Linked DNA regions of Homo sapiens: all the other regions are linked to region 3. The links are contacts of gene promoters, found by promoter capture Hi-C in human tissues and cell types (Jung and others, 2019). All regions are on one chromosome and are shown on one strand. The core of a region is centred on a gene start or on the middle of the fragment in contact, and the rest is flanking DNA. Distances in the headings are between cores, read along the strand shown. Region 1 holds the start of MRPS21 (mitochondrial ribosomal protein S21). Region 2 holds the start of RORC (RAR related orphan receptor C). Region 3 overlaps PSMD4 (proteasome 26S subunit ubiquitin receptor, non-ATPase 4).

The links. Contacts are between HindIII fragments. The study calls those that stand out against the background at their distance.
Region 1: the fragment with the promoter of MRPS21 here is called in contact with a fragment that was not itself captured in region 3 in 1 of the 25 tissues and cell types used here (heart left ventricle).
Region 2: the fragment with the promoter of RORC here is called in contact with a fragment that was not itself captured in region 3 in 1 of the 25 tissues and cell types used here (lymphoblastoid cells).

What each region holds. Positions count from the first base shown.
Region 1 is chr1:150,292,600-150,295,299 of GRCh38, forward strand. It overlaps MRPS21 (mitochondrial ribosomal protein S21), which reads left to right and starts at 1,262. Exons shown (of 3, transcript NM_031901.6): 1 at 1,262-1,299; 2 at 1,736-1,850. The coding sequence starts at 1,768. It overlaps LOC105371434 (a long non-coding RNA gene), which reads right to left and starts at 1,221. Exons shown (of 2, transcript XR_922129.4): 1 at 1,033-1,221; 2 at 701-898. RefSeq lists an enhancer at 1,550-1,609. The HindIII fragment of the contact is 19,456 bases long and covers 1-2,700 here.
Region 2 is chr1:151,830,551-151,833,250 of GRCh38, forward strand. It overlaps RORC (RAR related orphan receptor C), which reads right to left and starts at 1,252. Exons shown (of 11, transcript NM_005060.4): 1 at 1,175-1,252. The coding sequence starts at 1,214. RefSeq lists an enhancer at 1-560. The HindIII fragment of the contact is 16,173 bases long and covers 1-2,700 here.
Region 3 is chr1:151,266,009-151,268,938 of GRCh38, forward strand. PSMD4 (proteasome 26S subunit ubiquitin receptor, non-ATPase 4) reads left to right here. Exons shown (of 10, transcript NM_002810.4): 7 at 1-104; 8 at 300-431; 9 at 512-579; 10 at 1,165-1,471. The coding sequence ends at 1,335. Among named protein-coding and RNA genes, the nearest start is that of PSMD4, 13 kb to the left of the region's middle. The HindIII fragment of the contact is 5,567 bases long and covers 1-2,930 here.

The sequences.
Region 1 (2,700 bases), core at 12-2,511, 970 kb before region 3:
TCAAAGCTCGCTGCAGCCTTGACCTTCCAGGCTCAGGTGATCCTCCCCCTCAGCCTCCCAAGTAGCTAGGACAACAGGCCATGCCACTACACCCGGCTAATTTCTATATTTTTTGTAAAGACGGAGTTTTGCTTTGTTGCCCAGGCTGGTCTCGAACTTCTGGGCTCAAGTGATCCGCCTGCCTTGGCCTCCCAAAGTGCTGGGATTACAGGTGTGAGCCACCGCGTCCAGCCCATATAATTTATTTTGCATTTATTATATACTACTTTGTTTTAGTATCTTTTATGTGGTCCTAGTGGTCCAGGAGGCACTAGAGTGGTATCAACAGTATCTGACACAGAGTAGTCATTCAGTGAAAGTTTGTTGACAAGCATAATAATGTCCCAATCTAGTTCTATTTCGTTACTTTGGACCTGGCTTACTCTGAGGTGGGCTTAAGTGTTAGTGTAAGTTATTAGCATCAACTGATGATGCACACGTCTGTGTCTGTGTCTGTGTGTGTGTGTGTGTGCGTGAGCGTGCGCGCGCACTCTCTCTCTAAGGGAGGTACGTTTTCCTACAGCCATTAGATGTTAACTTACGTGAATAACCATAAATGGATATGTACAGGTAGCATACAAATAGGAGGACGGGTGTCTCCACAGCGAAGAAGAAATTTAAAAGGAGGTTTTTCAGTAGGTCTCATTAGCACGAAAAGGCATAGAAGCTGACATAATTTTTTATTCTAAACCCTGCAGGTGTTTCCCATATATCTTTATTGATTTCACTTTATGTAGTTAAATTAGTGGGAAGATGATATAGGAAACTCACAGTATGTTTATTTCTTTTCCTTAGCACTTAGGCAGATGACGTGTATGAATCAATCTATTTTTCGTCCGGAGAGCAGATCTCAAAGAGTCTGTCCTTTCCAAAGAGAAAACAGGAAGCATCCTCAGGAAGCGCCTACTTCTCTTGTTTTCCATCGAGAAAGAGAAATGGCTCAAATATTTATCAAGGATTTCACAGGATTAAGGGGTATGAAATTGGGCTGACCTTCTCAGAGGCCGAAGGACTTCGACTCCATGAGAGGGCGAGAAACGTGTTTCGGGGGAATTTAAGTCAATGAGTATTTTGCTTTGTCAGGTGTAGAGTCCAGGCCCGGGGAAGAGAGGCAGTCAACAGAGGCCAGAAAGGACGTTGCTATGGTTTCCACGCACGTTGTCTCCCTCGGCCTGTTTCTTTGCGCGGCGCTGGCGATTCCGTAATTTCCGCTTCCGGTAGTGAGAACCCTTCCGGTGGGCTAGGTACTGAGCGCGCGAGGTGAGGAGTTGTGCAGGGTTTGGGGAAAGGAAGGCTGGCTTGGCGAGAGGGCAGGTTTGCGGGCTTTCGCCCCCTTTTCCAAAGACCAACAAAGAGTCCTTCCCCAACTCCCAACTCAACCCCTTTTGGAACTATGTGTGGTGGTTGGGACCCTGTGGCGCATCCTTGTCGCTCGTGTCCTTCTCATGCCCGGCGACGCGTCTTTGTGGTAACGCCCTGCTGCCATCTCTTTTCTTCTCTATGCGAGGATTTGGACTGGCAGTGAGAATAAGAGACAACGATTCACGTCTACTTTCTAGGATGACTTCCATGTGCTCCATCTCGCGCGTCCCTGAGCATGTTGAATTTCCAAATCCTAAATAAGCCGCGCGGTGTAGTTTGTATTATGTTGCGTTTCTCTTTCTGCTTTCCTCGCCCTTTCTCCATCATCCTTTAGGCTCTACAGAGTGAAGGTTTAAATCCAAGGTCATGGCAAAACATCTGAAGTTCATCGCCAGGACTGTGATGGTACAGGAAGGGAACGTGGAAAGCGCATACAGGACCCTAAACAGGTAACTGTTAAGGGACCAGAATCATGCCTAGACTCTCTGGGAAGTGCGGTGGTTATTCTCTCCCTTCCCCTTTCGTTGATTGTTCTCAAAACAGTGCCAGCCCAGGTGTTCACAGTCTCTTAAAACGTCTCAGCCCCTCAGTTTATTATCTTAAAAATGAAGTTCTGGGCCGGGCGCGGTGGCTCACGCCTGTAATCCCAGCACTTTGGGAGGCCGAGGCGGGTGGATCACATGCGGTCAGGAGTTTCAGACCAGCCTGGCCAACATGGTGAAACCGTGTCTCTACTAAAAATACAAAAATTAGCCGGGCGTGGTGGCAAACGCCTGTAATCTCAGCTACTCGAGAGCTGAGGCAGGAGAATCGCTTGAACCCGGGAGGCAGAGGTTGTAGTGAGCCAAGATCGAGCCACTTGCACTCCAGCCTGGGCAAGAGTGAGACTCTATCTCAAAAAAAAAGAAAAAAAGTTCTTCCTCAAACCTAACTGTATGAATTGTATTCAACAAGTAATCACCCCCCGCACCTCCCCGCTTTTAATTTTAATTTTAATTTTTTTTTTTTTTTTTGAGGCAGAGTCTCGCTCTGTCACCCAGGCTGGAGTGCAGCGGCACGATCTCGGCTCACTGCAAGCTCCGCTTCCTGGGTTCACGCCATTCTCCTGCCTCAGCCTCCTGAGCAGCCAGTACTACAGGCTCCCGCCACCACGCCCGGTTAATTTTTGTATTTATAGTAGAGATGGGGTTTCACCGTGTTGGCCAGGATGGTCTTGATCTCCTGACCTCAAGTGATCTGCCTGCCTCTGCCTCCCAAAGTGCTAGGATTACAGGCGTAAGCCACAGCGCCCGGCCCCGC
Region 2 (2,700 bases), core at 2-2,501, 560 kb after region 3:
ATAGCTTCCCTAACCTCTGACTCTATTCTGTTATTTTTTTCCTTCTGCTGTTCAGTCTTGACACCTGACATACACACACACACACACACACACACACACACACACACACACAGTGCCCTTCTGCCCGGGAGATGCTCCCCACTGGCAGGCCGTGGTCACTAGGCTGTGTGGAGGCGAGTGGCCTGATGGCCTGGGCTCTGCTGGGGTGAGGGAGGAGAAAAGACTGCCCCGAGGTGGCAAGGCCCCACCCAGCCCCGCCCACCTCCCCTTGCTCCTGCCTGGCCCCACCCAGCTTCCTCCCTGACGTGGCACCGGCTCCTGGCCTCTAGCCTTGCACCTCAGAGCAGTCCTGTGGTGGGGGTGCTCCCCTTGCTCACCCAGGCAGCCAGTTCTTCCTCCACCAGGTGGCCCTGGAGCTTGGTGGCTCTGGCCCTCAAACTTTCCTCCTCCATGCTCACAGCTGACCAAGCCTGTGGCCCTGCGATCCTGCTCTGAGGGGGTTCCTGACTTGGACCATGGGTGGGGCCAAGGACGGCCTGACATTCTGTCCTTCCCTGCTGATGGCCCAGTGCCCCACATTCTCTGCAGAGATGAAATCCCACATCCCTGGGTGAGTGGCGAGGAAAGGACCAGGCTACGTGGTCATGGGCAGCTGACAGGGTGTGGTTCCCCCTGCCACACTCCCCAAGTCTGTCACTCCTTAAAGGACAGGTTTCTCCACTGGTGAATGAACAGAAGGTGGAGCAGCCAGCCTCCCGGCCACTGCTGTCTGGGGTCCTGGCCAGATCAAGGAAGCAGTGTCCCTGTGCCTCCTGGGGGGTAAGCCCACACCTGGGAGGGCCTGTCCACATTCTGACCCCTCGCTGGGTCTAGATCTGGCTCCCCTGACTTGGCTCTTCCCTCCCCATCTACCCTCCAACCTGTTTCTTCCTTCTCCCGCTTCTCCCTTTCTTTCCTGTTTCTCTCCTTTTGCGATTTCTTCTCCTCTGTCATCTCCCCAGCCCCTCCTCCTGTTTCTCCTCCAGTTTCACTCCCTGCCAACCCAGGGCTTTCTCCTCTGCACTCTTGTCCCTCCCTCCCCTCCTCACTTCTTGCCCAGTCTCTTGCCATTTCTGCCCTCCTCTGAACCTCCAGCAGTCTCTTCCACCTGCAGGCAGGGCCATGGGCCTCTTACCCCGTGAGGCTCGGTGCTGTCTCTGTGGGGCCCTGTCCATGGGGCAGCTCCCTTGGTGCCGTCCTGGCTGCCCTGGCTGCCCAGGAGGGCAGGGAGCAGGGCCCAGGGGAGGGAGGAGGGCGGAGGGTGGAAGGCGGGAGCACCTGGCCCTCCAGCAGGCAGGGAAAAGGAGTGGCTGGCAGAGTGTCCTGGCACCAGGAGGGGACATGAGGAGAGACCAGTGGACCAGTGCATGGAGCCTTGAGGAGAAACAGGACAGGAGAAAGGAAGGGAACTAGCATTTATTAATCACTTACTGTGTGCTGGGCCCTTTGCAGGACACTTTATGTAAATCCATGCTTTTACTTTGTGTAAATATTCACAGCACCCACCACAGGGAAACATTATTATTCCAGATTGATCAGTGAGTGGAGGGATTCTCAGAGATATTAATGATTTTGCCCAAGGACTCACACAAGAACAATAAATGGGTGAGCTATGATTTGGACCCAAGTCTTTGTGACTTTAGAATCCTGTGATTTCTACCTAAGACAGGTGACAGGCATAGGGGAGATGGAGAGGGCAGGTTTGGGGGACTGTGTCTCTTCTCTAGGATGCAGTCAGACTCCTCCCAGTGACTGTTCAGTTCCCTGAGGCCTCTGCCTGCTCGGCCCCTGCCCCTAACCCTTGCTGCTCTTGCCAGGACTCCCTGACCCCCTGATGCTTCTACGTGCTCCTCATCTGTTGGGGCAAGGGGCAGGCCTGGAGGAGTGCCTGGAGGCAGAGAAGCCATGGTGGGGAAGAGGAGAGGAGAGATGCTGCACTGGACTCATTGGGAGAAGGAGAGGCTCCCAGACCTAGTGGCCCACACTGAGGCCTGCAGTGAAGGCTCTGAAGGGGGCCAAGAGGACGAGGCTTCTGGGGATCCTGGTGCTGCTTTTCTCCTGCATGGCCTGGGCCCAGAGTTTGATTAGCTGGGCCTGACTCTCCTGGTTACCCAACAAGCAACTGGCCAGGGGCCAGGCTGCAGCAAGAGGCTCCCTGGCACCTCCTCCTGCTCTCGTTCCCAGCTGGTAAACAGCAGAGCAGGAGTCAGCCATGCCACAGCCTCGTGACTCGCCCACTCCCCCCCACCTGGTGCACGTGGCACCTGGCATGGAGAGGGCAAGCAGCTGTCCCTTCCCTCTTCTGCCGTCTCGTCTCGCCATCCTCCACTCCTGCCCAACCCTGGAGCTTCACACTCTGCTACCATCAGCACCTCTGTTCTTAGGTAGCTCCCAGAGTCTCCCCATGGCTGCAGATTGAGAGATAAAGGTAGAAGTGGAGAAGGACTTTTCAACTCCTAGGGTCATTGACAGTGGATGAGTAGTGAGAAAGAGGAGGGGAAGTTTTGGGGACCTTCTGCACTGAGTCTAAGGGTATGTGCCTATGCCTCTGAGGCTCTGATTATCCCCCGTGTTCTTTTGGTAAATGTGGGCCCACGCATCCATGTATGCATCTCTGCACAGAACAGGATGTTGGTCTGTTTGGGGGCTCTGCACCTTGGG
Region 3 (2,930 bases), core at 30-2,529:
TCGTGTATCTATGGAAGAGCAGCGGCAGCGGCAGGAGGAGGAGGCCCGGCGGGCAGCTGCAGCTTCTGCTGCTGAGGCCGGGATTGCTACGACTGGGACTGAAGGTGAAAGAGGTGGAATCCGAAGTCCTGGGACTGCGGGATGCTAAACATTGAAAGCTGGGTGTAGGCACTGCAGGGAGAGTGTGGAGGTCTGACAGGGTAGGAATATGTGGGAGGGCTGGGCTAGGAATGGCCTTGGAGGCTGGCCTGTGTGGATATGGCACCAATTCTACCCTGCTCCTCTTTTCCTTTTCCCAGACTCAGACGATGCCCTGCTGAAGATGACCATCAGCCAGCAAGAGTTTGGCCGCACTGGGCTTCCTGACCTAAGCAGTATGACTGAGGAAGAGCAGATTGCTTATGCCATGCAGATGTCCCTGCAGGGAGCAGGTGAGCCAGAGCCTGGGTGGTGCCTAGGCAGAGGTTGGGGTGAGGAAGTGTAACTGAACAGACTGACCTCTCTTCCTCAGAGTTTGGCCAGGCGGAATCAGCAGACATTGATGCCAGCTCAGCTATGGACACATCTGAGCCAGCCAAGGTGAGACCCAACCCTGCCCCCATCAGGTTTAAAGTCCTTGAATTTAGATCCTCATCCCTCTGGGGCTGGGAGTATTTCTACCATAGCTAAGTCCTTTGAGGAGCAGAGGGAAACACATGGATTTGCATTTCTTACATGTAAACCTTGCTAAGGTAGCAATGCTAATGGTCAGAGTTGGAGAAATGTCCTCTTGTTCTGTAATTTTCCTTTCTTGCTGGTGGGAGCAGCCTGGGCAGTTCTCTAGGATGTCTTCCCAGGAGGGAAAAAAGCGGGTCTGGGAAAAAGAAAAAGGAGAACTGGGTGTCTTGAGAGCAGGAAACCTCAATGTGATGGCATCTGTTTTTCTCCTCAGAGCTCAATTAACAGAGTTCTCAGCAGGCCCCTCTATTTGGTTAGTAATAACTGCATTCATGCTGTATAAAGGATTTTGCTGACTTGTCCTTTCCTTACGTCGACCAGAGGTGCCCAGATCCCCACACAGTCAGAAGGCAGGGGGCCTCTGGCAGCGGCATGCTCCTGTCCTTAACACCTGCTTACTTCCTGCCGCTCCATACCCTCCCTTGAGCTCACACTGCCTGTTTGCAGGAGGAGGATGATTACGACGTGATGCAGGACCCCGAGTTCCTTCAGAGTGTCCTAGAGAACCTCCCAGGTGTGGATCCCAACAATGAAGCCATTCGAAATGCTATGGGCTCCCTGGCCTCCCAGGCCACCAAGGACGGCAAGAAGGACAAGAAGGAGGAAGACAAGAAGTGAGACTGGAGGGAAAGGGTAGCTGAGTCTGCTTAGGGGACTGCATGGGAAGCACGGAATATAGGGTTAGATGTGTGTTATCTGTAACCATTACAGCCTAAATAAAGCTTGGCAACTTTTTTTCCTTTTTTGCTTCAAATATTGATGGTTTTGAGTGTGAGAGAGGGGAGGAGTCCCTGGCCTGAAGGAGAACCTTCCTTGTTGAGTTCTCTATGTCTCTGTTTCCACCTGTCTGGGCCTCCTAACGTGCTGGGATTACAGGCCCAGGAGCCAGGTTTCCATTTCTAATGAACGAAGACCTTATTTAAACCACCTTCTTGCCAATAACTTTTACTCTGCACTCACACAGCTGAACCCCAAGCATGGAATGATACTCAACCTTTTCAGTTTTTTCATGTGGACTTCTGAGGTTCAGCAAGTTTAGGTTATTTGGCCAAGGATATTTAGCTAATGAAGAGGCAGAACCAGGATCAAAATCCAAACTTGTCTCAGACCTGTCTCGCCAGGAGTTGAATCACCACCAAACAGTAGTTTCCCATTGGTCAGCTGCCTTCAGTGACTCTGCTCAGCCCTGCAAGTCAGTTCCTTGTAGCAACTACTATACCTTCCTCTACTCCCCGATCACTCTCAACAGAAGCCTGACATCTTTACAGAGAGTCAAGGCCGTGAGGCAGGAAGTTCTGGCTCCCTCCCTCCTGCCAGCACCTCCCTGCATCAGTTATGCTGTCTCCTGAGTCTCTGCTGTCCTAAACACCCTGCTGGCGTTTTCCTCTCAGTGTACATGCATAAAATCCACTCTACAAGTAACCTTACCTTGAGACTTTATATTATACGGTTTAAATATTATTTTACAAGGAACATCTATTCCCTTTATAATTTTTTTTAAAGTTTTTTTTTTTTTCAGCCAGGTGCGGTGGCTCACACCTGTAATCCCAGCACTTTGGGAGGCCGAGGTGGGCAGATCACAAGGTCAGGAGTTTGAGACCAGCCTGACCAATATGGTGAAACCCCGTCTCTACTAAAAATAGAAAAAAAATTAGCCGGGTGTGGTGGCACACGCCTGTAATTCCAGCTACTCAGGAGGCTGAGGCAGGAGAATTGCTTGAACCCAGGAGGCGGAGGTTGCAGTGAGCTGAGATCATGCCACTGCATTCCAGCCTGGGCGACAGAGGGAGACTCTCAAAAAATAAAAAATTAAAAAATATATATATATATTTTTATTTATTTTAAACAAAGTCTGTGCTCTGTCACCCAGGCTGGGGTGCAGTGGTGTGATCATAGCTCACTGTAGCCTCAACCTCCTAGCCTAAAGGATCCTCCTGCCTCAGCCTCCTGCATAGCTGGGACTAAGGCACACACTACCACGCCCAGCTAATTTTTTTTTTTTTTTTTTGAGATGGAGTCTGTCGCACAGGCTGGAGTGCAGTGGCACTGTCTTGGCTCACTGCAACCTCTGCCCCCCAGGCTCAAGCAGTTCTCATGCCTCAGCCTCGCAAGTAGCTGGGACTATAGGTATGTACCACCATGCCTGGCTAATTTTTAATTTTTTTTATAGATATGCGGTCTATGTTTCCCAGGCTGGTCTTGAACTCCTGGGC